Linked DNA regions of Homo sapiens: region 2 is linked to region 1. The links are contacts of gene promoters, found by promoter capture Hi-C in human tissues and cell types (Jung and others, 2019). All regions are on one chromosome and are shown on one strand. Each heading gives the region's core, a stretch centred on a gene start or on the middle of the fragment in contact. The rest is flanking DNA. Distances are from core to core; before and after follow the strand shown. Region 1 holds the start of CSMD2 (CUB and Sushi multiple domains 2). Region 2 overlaps CSMD2 (CUB and Sushi multiple domains 2).

Region 1 (6,829 bases), core at 3,486-5,985:
GGCCTAGGCTGTGGGCCCCTTCTCACTTCTCCCTCCTGGTTTCAGAAGCCCACAGCCTCACCTTGGTGTGGTCTGGGCTTTTTCCTCATGAAGCCCCTCTGTCGCCACTCCTTGGGCAGCAGATCACTGCCACCTCTATGGTGATAGCCTCGCCCTTGGGAGATACTCGCTTTGGCCTGATCATGCTCATGATTTTAAAATTGTGCCCCATTTGGGATCCTAAGCTTTTCCTCTGAGCCCATCTTTGTCCTGTAGCCCTTCTCTGCAGCCCTGCCTGCCCCTTGGCCTCTATTTCTGCCCTCGCATTGCTAGAATCTCCCATTTGCTCACTCTCTCTCTCTCTCTCTCTCTCTCTCTCTCTCTCTCTCAGCTTCAGAAGGCTTTTTGATCTTTTCCTGGGTCAGAATGAAAATTTCAGGGCATCAAGTCTACAGCTCCTCCTTGAATGAGGCAGAGTTCTCCAGAGCATCAGGCCTTGTATTCTTTCTAAATCAAACTCTGATTTTATCTGGATATTAGGCTTATCTTGGCTAGTCACTAGACTGCATTGGGCTTTTTTGCAATGTGATATTGTAAAGACACCTCAACCCACGACTGCCTGTTGCTCACAGGGAGAATGAGAGGGGCAGGCAGGGAGCCAGCACTTGGGGCTGGGCTGAGACCCACACTCTCCTAGGCTAGATGCGGGTAGGCTGTTATGTCTTTGACTCCTGCCTCTCCATTGCCCTGCAGATGTTTCCAGGGTCCCCATCTCTGCCTTTGCCCCCATGTTTCCTGGCTCAGACTATTGCAGTAGTCTTCTAAGTGGTACCCTTTCCTTTCTTACCCTTTCCTCACAGAGAAGTTAGAGTATATGTCAGGCCACATCACTTGGCGTCTCTTTCCCAGAAATGAAAACCTACCTTTCATATTCAGAGCTGTCTACTTTTCACTAAAGGAGCCATGCTATACACAGAAAATAAATGTAAACAGATATCTCTTTACATATATTTTCTGACTGTCAAGCATCTCTCTCCTCCCTCCATCTGAAAAGTCATCTCCTCCTGTTATAGAATGAATTGTGTGCCCCCCCACCCAAATTCATAGGTTGAAGTCCGAACCCCTAGTACTTCAGGATGTGACCTTATTTGGAGGTAGAGTCTTTAAAAAGTCAGTTAAGTCAAAATGAGGTCATTGGGTTGGGCCTTAATCCAGTATGACTGGTGTCCTGATTAGAAGTTTGGACACAGATATGTACCATGGGAACACATGTGAGGACACAGGGAGAAGAAGGCAGCCATCTACAAGCCAGAGAGAGAAGCCTCAGAGGGAACCAACTGTGTCGACCTCTTGATCTTGGACTTCCAGCCTCCAGAATTGTGAGGCAATACATTTCTGTTTTTTAAGCCACAGGGTCTATGGTACTTTGTTGTGGCAGCAGTCCTAGCAAATTAATACACCTTCTATTTCTCACTGGCTAAGAATAAAATGCAAACTCCTCGCCATCCCCTAATAGACCCTATGTGATCTGCCCCACTCCCTATCTCCCATTGCTTACCTGGATCCAGCCCCATCCTCCTCCTCCTGGCCCCCTTTCCTTTTTACAGCCTTGCCTGTGCTCACTATACCAAAAGCTCTTTCCCCAACTTTGCATGGCTGCCTTGCTTAATTCTATTATTATATTAATTAATTAATTAATTAATTCATAGACAGATAGTCTGGCTCTGTCACCCAGGCTGGAGTGCAGTGGTGTGATCATGGCTCACTGCAGCCTTGAACAGCTGGGCTCAAATGATCCTCTGGCTTTAGCCTCCTGAGCATCTTGCTTAATTTTAGATCCCATCTTCCACCGTTGCCATCTCAGAGAGGCCTTCTCAGACCATCTCCTTAAAGCACATCCCCATATTGTTTCTCCTAGCACCATAAACTTTCCTTTTGTAGCATCCTTAATTAGTAACTTTATGTGTATTTGTATACATATTTTCTGCCTTCATCAAGTCAGGGACTGTGCACTAGGTGTATATTCATTGTCTAGCACAGCACCCAGGCACATAATGATGCTCAATAAATATTTGTTGAGTAAATGAATCTTCATCTTTTCAAGGTCTTTATCCATGTCTCAGGTTCCAGACCAAATCCTACTTTCCTTCTTAAATTAGCCTTCTGATCCCCCAAGTCCAGGAAAAGCTCACTGTCTTGACATGCCTCTCGGTAGCATGCCGGTTCTTCAGTCATGGTGATTATCGCTGTCTGACGGTATCAGTTACGTGTGGGTTTCCACCTCTGGCCTGCATCCTCCCAAAGCAGGACCACACACTGTGCATCTCTGCAGGGCCCAGAGCACAGCCTCGCTCAGGGCCCCCGAGCACAGGAGGCGCTCAGTGAAAGCACGTGGACCCAAATAGATCAGAGAGCAGGAATGGCGGAGGATGTGAGTAACTGGGCCTTTTGCAGGGATAAAATAGGTGCCCTGCCCTCCACAGCCCCCAGGGAGAAGGATGACAAACGCTCCTTTTGCCCGGGAAAGTTCTGGGGGTAAATCTCATCTGCCCGTTGCAGCCACAGAGCAAAGTTCTGGAGCTGAGAAGAGGGTAAGAGAAAGCCCATTGGCCTGCAGCCCCAGAATTACAGAGCAGCCCAGACTCTCTTCTGCCCAGCTGTGGGCTGCACAGGAGGCCTGGGCATCTCTGCCAGTTCCTTTCTCTGGAGGAGAACCCCGCCTCCAAGAGAGGGGTAAAGTCGGAGCTTAGAAGCCAGGAGCCCACCCCCAGGCAAGCCCAGCTAACAGCCCCCAAGGCCACCACCACCACTCACTGCTGGCGTAGTCAGTCCCTTCCTCCTCTCCAGGGCTGGTGGGAAGGCTGAGCCCTCTCTTTCGGGGGCTGAGTCTGGACAATGGGAAGGGAGAAGCCCCCTCCTCACTGCCCCGGGAACATAAAGCAGGCCTTTCACTGAGGAGTTCTGGCTGCTTCGGTTGGTTCTTGGCACCCAGCAAGGCGGCGTCGGGAGGGGCGGGCATACAAGCGTGTTGGGGGTGGGGACCAGGCCCGCGATTCTGAGGAGATTCGCCCGCCCAGGGCCACCGGGCTGGCTCCCCAGCTGTGGGATGAGCTCATGCAGGGAAACCGGAACAACTTGGGGTGGGGGGAGGGAGGAAGAGTGGCATCTAGGAGGCTGCGAAAGCGTGGCTCTGGGGAGGAAGTTTTTCATGGGGAGTAGGGACAAGCCTCCACTCCTCCAGCCCTGCCCCCGCCCCCCAATTCATATCGTCAACTCCACAGCCCCTCTTCACACCCTTCCTTGGATGGAAATTCCTGGCCACGCTGACAGCCGGCCAACCTGGGTCGCCAGCCACCCCCAGCCTGGCTCGCCATCCCTACAGTCCCTCTCCACACCCTTCCCCGGAAATTCTCAGGCCCCACCGCCCGCCGGCCACTGCCCCCTTGGCCACACAGATGCCAACGCTCCGTTTTGGCCAAATCAGGCTGCCCTAAGCCCGGAGCACAGCTTCTCTGGGGTGTGTCGGCAAAGGGGGCGGGGGTGCCCATCGCAGGTGCCTTTCCACTGCACGCGCCAGCAGAAGCCTCCTCTCTGGACCTTGCCCCTCCCAGTTTCCTCCAGCCTCCCCCCATGAAGCGTCTCTTCCCTCTCGCCGAGAGTTTGGCGTAGACAGCGAAGGAGCCATCGTGACTGGCGGAGAAGCCTGGAGTAGACGAGACAGAGACGGCGACCGAGTCGGGTGGGGGATGGGGTGGGGACCGACACTAAGCCCTTGGGGCCTAGAGGCAGCCGCTACTGGGGAGAGGTGGGGAGCAGCTCACGTCCTTGGGAAGAACTCTCTTGGTTTGGGGCCTTGGCTGGGAGGAGGAAGGGGAGAAGAAGAAGTAGGATCCGATTATTTAAATTTGGGGATAAATTGTACTAGTAACTCTTGCACCGTCCTTCCACCAACCTCACTCCCCACCCCCAACTCGCGTGCACACAGGGACCGCCTCTGCCACCCTGAGATTTTTGTCTTAGGGTAGGAGTGGGACCGCACTGGGTCAAATGAACCGGTTCCCCCCCCTCCCCACCCCACACACAACCCCCCTCCACCGCCCTCCAATTCTTAACCCTGCCTCTGTCTACGCACACACGCCCCTCTCCTGGGATGGGGTAGGAGGCTATTGTGAATGAGGCTCATAAGCATCGCCCCCGGCCCTAGATGGCAAGTTCAAAGCCACCACCCAAGATCAGCTGGTAAGAGCCAAGACTTGGGGAACGCGTCCTTCTTTGGTTACCTTTTCCCAGACAGGATTCCAATTTCCAAACGTGGAAGAGGTGTGCGTGTATGTGCCTGTGTGTGTGAGTGCGTGTGTCTCTGTCACTGTGTGTGTGTGTGTGTGTTTGTGTGTGTGTGTGTGGAGAGGGGGGTGTATTAATGGGTGATGTTATAAATGAAAACAGGAGGACTGAACTTAAAAGAAACTGGTCAATTGCAAAACAGACACGGATAAACAACCCTTTAGATGTAATTTGTGGTTTATCTGGAGGTGGAGGTGGCGCTGAAGAGGAACCCCCGCCCCCCAATATTTTATCCTTAGCTGCGCCTCCACCCCCAGCATTTGGAGCGGCGGAGAAGCGGCTCCGGAGTGATTAATCCGGGGATAATTCACCCCCTCCCGCCCCCCGGCGCGAACCCCGCGAAGCGGGATTGGAGCGAGTCATTTCCGAGAGCGCAGCGCGCCTCTCCCCGGCCGGGCGGACACTTGGTTCATTCCAGCCGCAGAAGCTCAGGGCTCCCGCGTACCGGGATTTTTTCCGAGCAGAAAAAAGCTCCAGAGCTCTCCTGACCTCCTTTCTCCTCGGCGGCGAGCGGAGCCTCTCCCTCGGCGCTGCCGGCCGCGCCATGCCGCGCTCGCGGGGACGGGAGCTGGGGCGCTGCGGCTGCCCCGCGGGGAGGGCTCGCGGCGAAACCGGGATTTCGGCGCTTGTGCCGGGCGCCGGGAGCCGCTGGGGCCGCCCGCCGCCGCCAACGCCGCCGCCTCTGCTGCTGTTGCTGGGCTGTGGGTTGCTCAGCGTCTCGGCCGCCGCGGGTGAGTCCAGCCGCGCCGAGGAGCCAGCGGCCGCCGCGCGCCCCACCCGAGCCCCGAGCCCACCCATCCTCGACCCGGTCCCAGTCCCTCCCCCCGCCTCTATCCCTGCCTGAATCTCCCACCCTCCCAGTTGCCTACTCTCATTCTCATCCCTGCCTCCGTCTCCCACCCCACCCTCAGCCACGTCCTCACCTCCACCCTCACCCTCACTGCTGCCCCAACCCCAGCCGCAACTTGGACGGATGCGGCCGGTGTGGGGGCCTGGGAGACAGACATCCCCGCCCGGGGTTGCGGGGCACCTGGTCTGTGGCTTCAGTTTCTCCAGCCTCCCAGCCCCCACGGTGCTAGGCTTTTTCCCGATAAACTTTCCGGGAGCCCTACTCCCCCGGCTCCTGATTCTGCCAGGCACGCTGGTCCTGGGGGCTGGAGAGGAACCGTGCGCCCCCTCCCCATTTCTGCGTCTGCAAGGTCTGCCCTTCCCTGCCCCCGCCCATTTTCTCCAATTGAAACCGGTGCCCCCTCTGGAACCGACTGCAGACTGCGGCCGCCATCCCCCTCCTCAAATGCTACCCCTCCCTCGGCGCTCGGAGCTAGGAGGGGGTTCAGGTGGACGCGTGCCCACGGTGGGGGTCCCGCGCATTCCTTGCAGGAGGGTGCAGGTGGGGGCTGGAGGGTGTTGAGGGATGGGAAGGAGGGGGTGGGGGTTGTAGCCCGAGGCGGGGGAGGGAGTGCCGCCGCCAGGCTTCGCGCTGCCACATTCCCCTCGGTGCTCACTCCGCGCCAAAGTGCCCTTTCCCGCGCCCTGCTGCAGCCGAGCGCCTCGGCTGCGGCAGCGGCAGCGGCGGCGCGGGCGGCGGGACCAGCTCCCGACGACCGAGTCCGGGAAGGGGCAGATCTAGCGGGTGCGGAGAGTCCCGGAACTTCGCGGGTGTCTGGCTGCAGCTTGCAGCGCGCGGGGGAGGTACGCGAACCTTCGAGGGAACCCGGTCCCCTGTGGAGGCTACTGGCCGCGACTGGTGCCCTCCCGCTTTACCCACAGCACCCCTCCGAAGCTCAGTTCTAGCTACAAGCTAGAAAGTTCCGTGTGCCCGGGTGGAGACGGGTCCAAACCGGGATGCCTGGAACCGCATTTTCATTTAGCCCGCGAGGCTGACACCCACTGGGGGAGAAACCGAAACACCTGCTGGCCAGGCCTAGACCTAGGGCACCTTCGACCTGGAGCCGTGTTTTCTTTTTTGTTTTTGTTTTTGTTTTGTTTTGTTTTGTTTTGAAACCACCGATTGAACCTCTGAAGGCTTGGCCTGGACCACCCCAGTTCCCCTTCTTGGGAAAGTGCGCCTCTCCTCTGGCAGGTCAGTGAGTGGCGAGCTCTCTGGCCCACTCTGGCCTTCAGCGTCTTGTGAGTCTGTCCTCGCAGACCGTGTCGCCCACCGCTTAACCGCGGCATGTTGGGGTTCTTGGTCAGGGAGGGCGCCCCGAGCCAGCTCTGGCTCTCTCATTCCTAGCTGACGGGACTTTCTTAGGTTCTGCTAAGAGTCATAGCCACCGACACCCAGAGAGGGGCGCCCGCGGTGCGCGCGCCTGGGAGCTCTGGCCTCTCGCACACCCACACCCACTGGGAGGCTGTGCATACCGACGCTGCTGGTCACCCAGACTTGCCACATGGGCGGTGGGGGAATCGCTGCTACCTCCCGCCAGGCCTCCCGGACGTACGTTGAGGCGAGGCCGGTCTCTGGCTTAGCTGATTGGAGAATGTCTCGGCATCGGACTGAATT
Region 2 (6,849 bases), core at 779-3,278, 540 kb after region 1:
AAATGAGGGTACTGAACTCTGTCATGCCAACCTCACAGTGACCACAGGTCAAGTTAAGACCGTGAATGAAAAAGCTTTCTATAAACTTTAAATTGTAAAGTGCAGTAAAAATACGTGAGATTTTATTTCAGGAAGGCCTGGAATGTGGAAGGAATTGCTGCATGGGGTACTGGCAGCCCCTCCTTCCTGGCCAGGATTTTATCTTCTGGGCCCACCTGCTGGACTCACTGTTCTCTCCTCCTTGCCCCTTATCTCGGCAGGAGAATCACTGCCCTTGGCCACCTCCAATCAAGTTCTCATTAAGTTCAGCGCCAAAGGCCTCGCACCAGCCAGAGGCTTCCACTTTGTCTACCAAGGTATGGAGGACATGGACGCCGGAGGTAGGAAGGTGATCTCGGTTCTTAAGGGACTCGTGATCGAAGGGACAGGGATCTTTGACCTCTAGTCTGAGTCCCTTTCTCAGGGTGTTTGGGGGCAGTTACTAGTTTGTAGGGCAATTCCCTGAAATCCAGTTAATTTTATGCATTCACTTACTCAGCAGACATTTCTTAGACAAGTTCTGTGTTTAATGAGGAAGGAAATCAGACAAAGGCAGCCAGTTTTTTCCCCTTCCCCACTCCACCCATTGTCTGGCATGGTCCAGATGGCACTGAAGAGACCAGCCCAGGCATCTTACCTGGACTCCCCTGGAGCTTGGTTTTGTCTGCCAGGCACAGTAAAGGTGCGGGGAAAACACAGGCTTTGAAGTGCCGTGGACATCGATTTGAATCCCACCTCCCCACCTTCGAGCTAGGCTCCAGCTACGCCAGGCCTCAGAGCCTGTTTGCTCACCTGTAAGGAGCGGGCAATCACAATGCCTCACTGATAGGATGCAAAGAGGCTTCGGGAAGTAGCTGGTACCAACCAGCCAGTTGGTGTTAGTTCCCTTCCTTATTGGCCCAGAAAGGTAGTTTGGAGCATCCTGGTTTTCACCCCCAGGTCCCAACCTCTGCTTGCCCAGGAGAACATCCACTTTTGTAGGGCCCAGGTTCTAAGCATGGTCCTGTTCATTCGACTCTGCCCAGGATGAGCTGTGTTTCTCTTTGCAGGAGTGATCCTATCACAGGGGAGGCCATCCCGGGCCCATCAGCCATTCTGGGCGGCAGGAGGGAGGGGAGACTGGGGGTCATGGAGGGCAGGGCCCCAGGCAGGATCTTAAGGCACATGGGGAAAACAGGACAGAGGCAGGGCAAAGGCCCTGAAGGTAGAGGAGGAAGGCCCATTCTCCTTGCTAGGGAACGTGGGACCCTGATGAGTGAGGGGCGTCGTTGGGAAAGCAAAGAACAAAACTGGGCCTAAGGTCTGTGGGAGGTCCACGGCTCTACCTCCCGTGCTTTCCAGGAGCTGTGCTGTAGCGCTGTGTGTCCAACTATAATTCGGTATAACAGGCATCCTCCTAGTTAGCCCTCGAGCCCTTCCCTACGGGAGAGCATCCAGAGCCTCCCAGGGTTTCATCCAGACGGTCTTTGTTCCAGACCCGTTGTATGTCCGTCCCTGGGCCAGTTTCTGAGGGGTGAGGCCTCCCCTCAGTGCCCTTGTCCCCCACAGCGGTTCCTCGAACCAGCGCCACGCAGTGCAGCTCTGTGCCGGAACCCCGCTATGGCAAGAGGCTGGGCAGTGACTTCTCGGTGGGGGCCATCGTCCGCTTCGAATGCAACTCCGGCTATGCCCTGCAGGGGTCGCCAGAGATCGAGTGCCTCCCTGTGCCTGGGGCCTTGGCCCAATGGAATGTCTCAGCGCCCACGTGTGTGGGTGAGTAACCAGGACCCGGGCGTTGAGGGTGCGGGGGGCGGCACGTAGTCCTTTCTCTGTAGGGGAGGCAGTCAGCCCCAGTGATGCCCCACGACACACAGCAGCCGCTTCCCACCGCATGGCTGAGGTGGGGTGTCCCAGTCAACCCCAGTCCCCGGCGCTGTGGGCTGTGTGAAGACAGCCGGTGTACTGGGGACGGGGCACACGTGGAGAGAGGAGCTGGGCCCAGGGCCCCGAACAGAGTTGCATGGGGAGAGGCCGTGGAGAAGGCAGGACTGGGGACATTAGGGAGACACCCCCATGGGGAGGAGGACAAACAGAGGCTGGGGGCCATGAGGGAGGAGTCAGCTTGGGAAGGCTCCCACGGGAGGCCACAAAGCCTCTGACCCGATGGCCTCTCCTCCCAGTGCCGTGTGGAGGCAACCTCACAGAGCGCAGGGGCACCATCCTGTCCCCTGGCTTCCCAGAGCCGTACCTCAACAGCCTCAACTGTGTGTGGAAGATCGTGGTCCCCGAAGGCGCTGGCATCCAGGTAGGGGCAAGGGGGCGCCTCGGTCGGGCAGGTGGCCGTCTGCTCCCAGGTAACAGCTCACAGGTGACAACCACAGGTGCTGGCTGGTGCCAAGGCCTGAGTCAGGGTGAGCCAGGAAGAGACATATCAGCCCTGTACCTGCCCCTGCGGCTAAGGAGGCTCAGTCCAAGTGTGGAGATGTGGCTCCCATGCAGAAAACACAGCAGGTTCCAGGCCCCAAGAGCTTCAGGGACATGCGGTGGGAGTCGGGTAACCCAGGAAGGAGGAGAGGTGGGCATTGATTGGCCATGGCCAGGAGGGGAGGCTAAAAGAAGAAATGGGCCTGGAGCTGGAATCTGAAGTGTGGGAAGGATTCATAGAAGTTGTTCCTCAAATGGCTAAAGATTTTCTTAAGATTGTGAGGGTTAGAAGGGGAGGCAGTGCTAATGAGAAGAAAGAGCAAAGCACCCAGCACAGCTGAAGCACAGAGAACCCCCAGGCACACACCTAGGGAACCACGCACAGCATGAGCTGTAGAAGCTGAACTGGGGGCATAACTGGTACCCAGGGGTAAGAGCCAGGCAGAGGGAGGCCCCAGCATTGGCGTCAAGGCAGGGAAGAGGGTCAGGAGCCTGCAAGGCCAACAGAGAGGCAGCAAACTGGGAGTCCAGCAGACAGATCTGGGCAGGAGTGGGTTACGGGCTCATTGCTGCAGGACGTCTGATGAAATCAAGGCAGGAAAGTGGGGAAACCCAAGGAACATTCCAGAGATGAGGAGACAGTCAGTGAGACTGTCTTTCCACTTCCTGGAACTTCTTTTCCCCATTCTCTGCCTTGCAAAATATCCACTGTCTTCTAATCATTTTTTTCCACATCTGTCTTCCCCACTGGACAACGAGCTCCTTGGAGTCGGTTCTGCATCTTACTTTTATTGAAAGGGACTAGCACAGTGTTAGGCCCAGAGTAGATTCTCAACAAATTGAATTAACTACGGGAAGGGCAGAAAGGGAAAGCAGAGAAGGAGGGAGGGACGCAGGCTGCCTAACCAACAATTCACTCTTCTCCCTTCCCAGATCCAAGTTGTCAGTTTTGTGACAGAGCAGAACTGGGACTCGCTGGAAGTATTTGATGGTGCAGATAACACTGTAACCATGCTGGGGAGTTTCTCAGGTAAGCTGGGTTTCCAGGGGCTTCAATTTGGAGGGTAGTACTAGAGCTCATCATCATGAACATTGTTATTATCATTATTATTATTGAGATATCACTTATATTCCATGAAATTCACCATTTTCAAGTGGACACATCAGTGGTTTTCAGGAGATTCGAAAGGTCCTGCAACCATCACTACTATCTAATCCCAGAACATTTTGACCACCCCAAAATAAACCAGGTACCCATTTGCACTCCCCTCCCCAGCCCACACCTAGCCTCTAGTAACCAGTAATCTACTTTCTATCTCTCTGGATTTGCCTATTCCAGGCATTTCATATAAATGGAAGCCTTCTGTGTTTGGCTTCTTTCACTTAACGTGATGTTTTCAAAGTTCCCCCAGTCACAGTATGGTTCAGCACTTCATTGTAAGGACAGAGCATATTTTGTGTGTCCATTCATCAGTCAATGGCTTGTTTCCACTTTTGTGCTGTTATGAATAATGCTCATGCACAAGTCTTGGTGTGAACACACATTGTCACTTCTCTTGAGTATATACCTAGGAGTGGAATTGCTGGGTCATGTGGGAACTCTATGTTTAACTTTTGGAGGAACTTCCTGTTTTCCAAAGTGGCAACACCATTTTGCCATTCTAGTAATGGACTTCTGACTGAGTGTGGTGTATAGGTGTGCCCAGTGGCCAGGGCAATTATCTGAATCTTTTAGGCCCAGAACTCTAGGTGGCCAAGAGATAAAGAGGAGTCACATGCTTCAGATAAACTGTCCACACTGCAGGACTGCCCAGAGAATAATACAGGTCAGAGTTATCCTGAAGATGGCTATGAGGAGACCCAACTCATCCCTCACCCTCCTGCGGGCACATGGCTCTGCCACTGCTCATCTTACAGGAAGCAGATTGGAGTTTCCCCTCCCTCAGCCAGTAGAGACCTAGCCCTCTGAGGAGTGCTAATTTGTCATTTAGTGAGTTTCATAACTGGGGACATCTGGGGGCCTTGGGAGCAGAATGTCAGCAGGTAGCAAAATCCAGAGGAATGGGGAGGAATGCAAGGGCCTGGAGGAGCCAAACTTAAATGGTTTTCCCTGGTGTCCTTGCCCTAGGAACAACCGTGCCTGCCCTTCTGAACAGCACCTCCAACCAGCTCTACCTTCATTTCTACTCAGATATCAGCGTATCTGCAGCTGGCTTCCACTTGGAGTACAAAAGTGAGAATCCAGGGTCTTGGCTGGTACAGGGTTCAGGGTGGGACCTAAAAGTTGCTGAGCCCCTTCTGAGCAAGGATTAAACTGGAGCTGCATATTGTCCATCCCACTTAAGCCTTCCCACAAACCTAGGTGAAGATGCTAAAGCCCAGAGAAGGTCTGAAACCTCCTCAAGGCTGTGTTCTCGTCCAAGTGTCTGTTACTCGAAAACCTGTATGCCTGTTCAGTATCCACACCAGGAATGGGAAGGGGACTTGCATTGGCCAAGGTCCCAGTATATAATTGGGATGTAAGAAAATTGTGCTTTCCTCCCCCAGGTCTAAAACCTGGCCTTTCTAACCCCTAGTTCTATGATGCGATTATTTTTGAAGTTCCTCCTTTCATTGGCTACCTCACTCATCTTCTACCAGATTTCTCACTGCAGGCTCAAACCCTTATATCCTGGCTTCTGGCATCCCTAAGTGGTCACTACCAAATACTCTTCACAGAGAAAGATTTGTGGATGTGCCTTCTGGGGAACAAAGAAAGAGGTTTCTAGGGAAACTGCTTGCATACTGGGACTGCCTGCCCTACCCCCTTTCTCCACTGGGTACAGGAAAGAATAGGTAGGCAGCAGCATTTTTTACACTTTTATTCGGCAAATATTTATTGAGCATTTACAACATGCCAGGCACTGTGCTGGGTTTTGCCACGATTGGGAAAGATTAAGATGGGTCAGTCAAAGTCCACTAAAGAGAGGTAGACACATAGACAGAGAGGTGCATGACAGCATTACAGGTGCTCTCATGGATGGCTCTAGATGGTAGAGAAATGGTTCAAGGGAGAGAATGGTTGTGGGCGGGTGGAGATGCAAATGTTGTGAAGAAACATTGAGCACCTGCAATGTGCCCCGCCCTGTGTTAGGTCCCCGCAGTACAAAGGTCAATAAGACAAGGCCCCTGCCTTCAAAAGCACAAAATCTAGAAGGAGAGATGGACATGGGCACAGTCATTTTAGTGAAACCTAAGAAAGTGCAGAGGAAAGGAGAGATGCTAAGAAAGTACAAAGGAAAGGAGCTAAAGCTAGCCATGTAAGGCCTTGCAGAAGGGGATGCCTGAGTTAAGTTTGCAATGAGAAGTGAAAAATGCAGGAAGGCATGGTTGGCTAGACCATCTGCGACAGCATGGGCCTGTGCAGAAAGAAGGCCCACTGGGTGCTAGATGTCTGATTGGGTCAGAACTGTGTTATGCACATGCCCATCTGGGTCTGTGAAACAAATGAACTTCATCCAGCTGCTTCAGAAAGAATTAAACAGGTCCCAGGATGCTCATCACCTGAAAGAACTGAAGCATGCACCTGGAAAAAAAAAAAAAAAAAAAAAAAAGACCCAGGACAGCTAGAAGCAGACCCTGCAGGGTAAAGGGTAGGACAGGGACCTCTGAGACTCCTTCCAGCAGATATGTAAGGCTTCACTCCCCTGGTGGAGTGAAATATCCTGGGTTTCTCGACTAAATCACATTTTTTTCCTTTCATCCCTTCTTCTCTGTTCTCTCCAGTTTTCTCTATCCAATATTTTGAGCTCTTAAATGTTCCCTAGAATCTTCTCTGTTCTTTCTTCTTCCAAAGATACATTTTCTTTGTAAATCACTTTGCCATTCTACTGCCTCATTCCCAGGAAAAAAATCCACCTCTTCTCAATTTTCTTCGTCCAAGGGGACTGGCAGTTTTCCCAGTAGCTGACATTTCATGTGTTGTCCCCTCATGATGGGAAGAGCTACGGAGAAACAGAGCTTCCCACTGGTATTTGGAGACTGGAATTCCTAGGAGCCAGGGCCCTGTAGTTATATTTTATTTTGTAGGATAATCTACAAAGAGCTCACAGACAATAGAGAATTAACTGCTATTGTACAGGCAAATGGTTTTGAAGGGTACTGAAAAGTCACATCCACTGCTATGATTCATAATTGTTTATTTAATTTAAATGGAAATGGAGCAATATGCTTTCAAAAGTAATAAATTACATATGATAAAAAATAATTTTTCCTTTGTTGTAAGCATGGCTTAAATAAAATCAATCTGTGTAGCATAAGATAAGTTAGAATGGACTTTTCTATATCCCCCTCCATTTTTCTCTTCAGCCTCATCTTTCTCCCATTCCATTTTTCTTCCTACCACGCTTTTTTGTCCTCATTCTGCTC

Evidence for each region. The method cuts DNA at HindIII sites, captures the fragments that hold promoters and counts their contacts. A contact is called where the count stands out against the background at its distance.
Region 2: a contact is called between a fragment that was not itself captured here and the fragment with the promoter of CSMD2 in region 1, in 1 of the 25 tissues and cell types used here (dorsolateral prefrontal cortex).

The regions. Positions count from the first base shown.
Region 1 is chr1:34,163,136-34,169,964 of GRCh38, reverse strand. It overlaps CSMD2 (CUB and Sushi multiple domains 2), which reads left to right and starts at 4,735. Exons shown (of 71, transcript NM_001281956.2): 1 at 4,735-5,054. The coding sequence starts at 4,868. It also overlaps a transcript of C1orf94 not described here. RefSeq lists enhancers at 6,225-6,284, 6,705-6,829. The HindIII fragment of the contact is 8,389 bases long and covers 1-6,829 here.
Region 2 is chr1:33,619,993-33,626,841 of GRCh38, reverse strand. It overlaps CSMD2 (CUB and Sushi multiple domains 2), which reads left to right. Exons shown (of 71, transcript NM_001281956.2): 33 at 261-356; 34 at 1,588-1,791; 35 at 2,199-2,323; 36 at 3,376-3,472; 37 at 4,571-4,675. Among named protein-coding and RNA genes, the nearest start is that of ZSCAN20, 150 kb to the right of the region's middle. The HindIII fragment of the contact is 6,752 bases long and covers 1-5,404 here.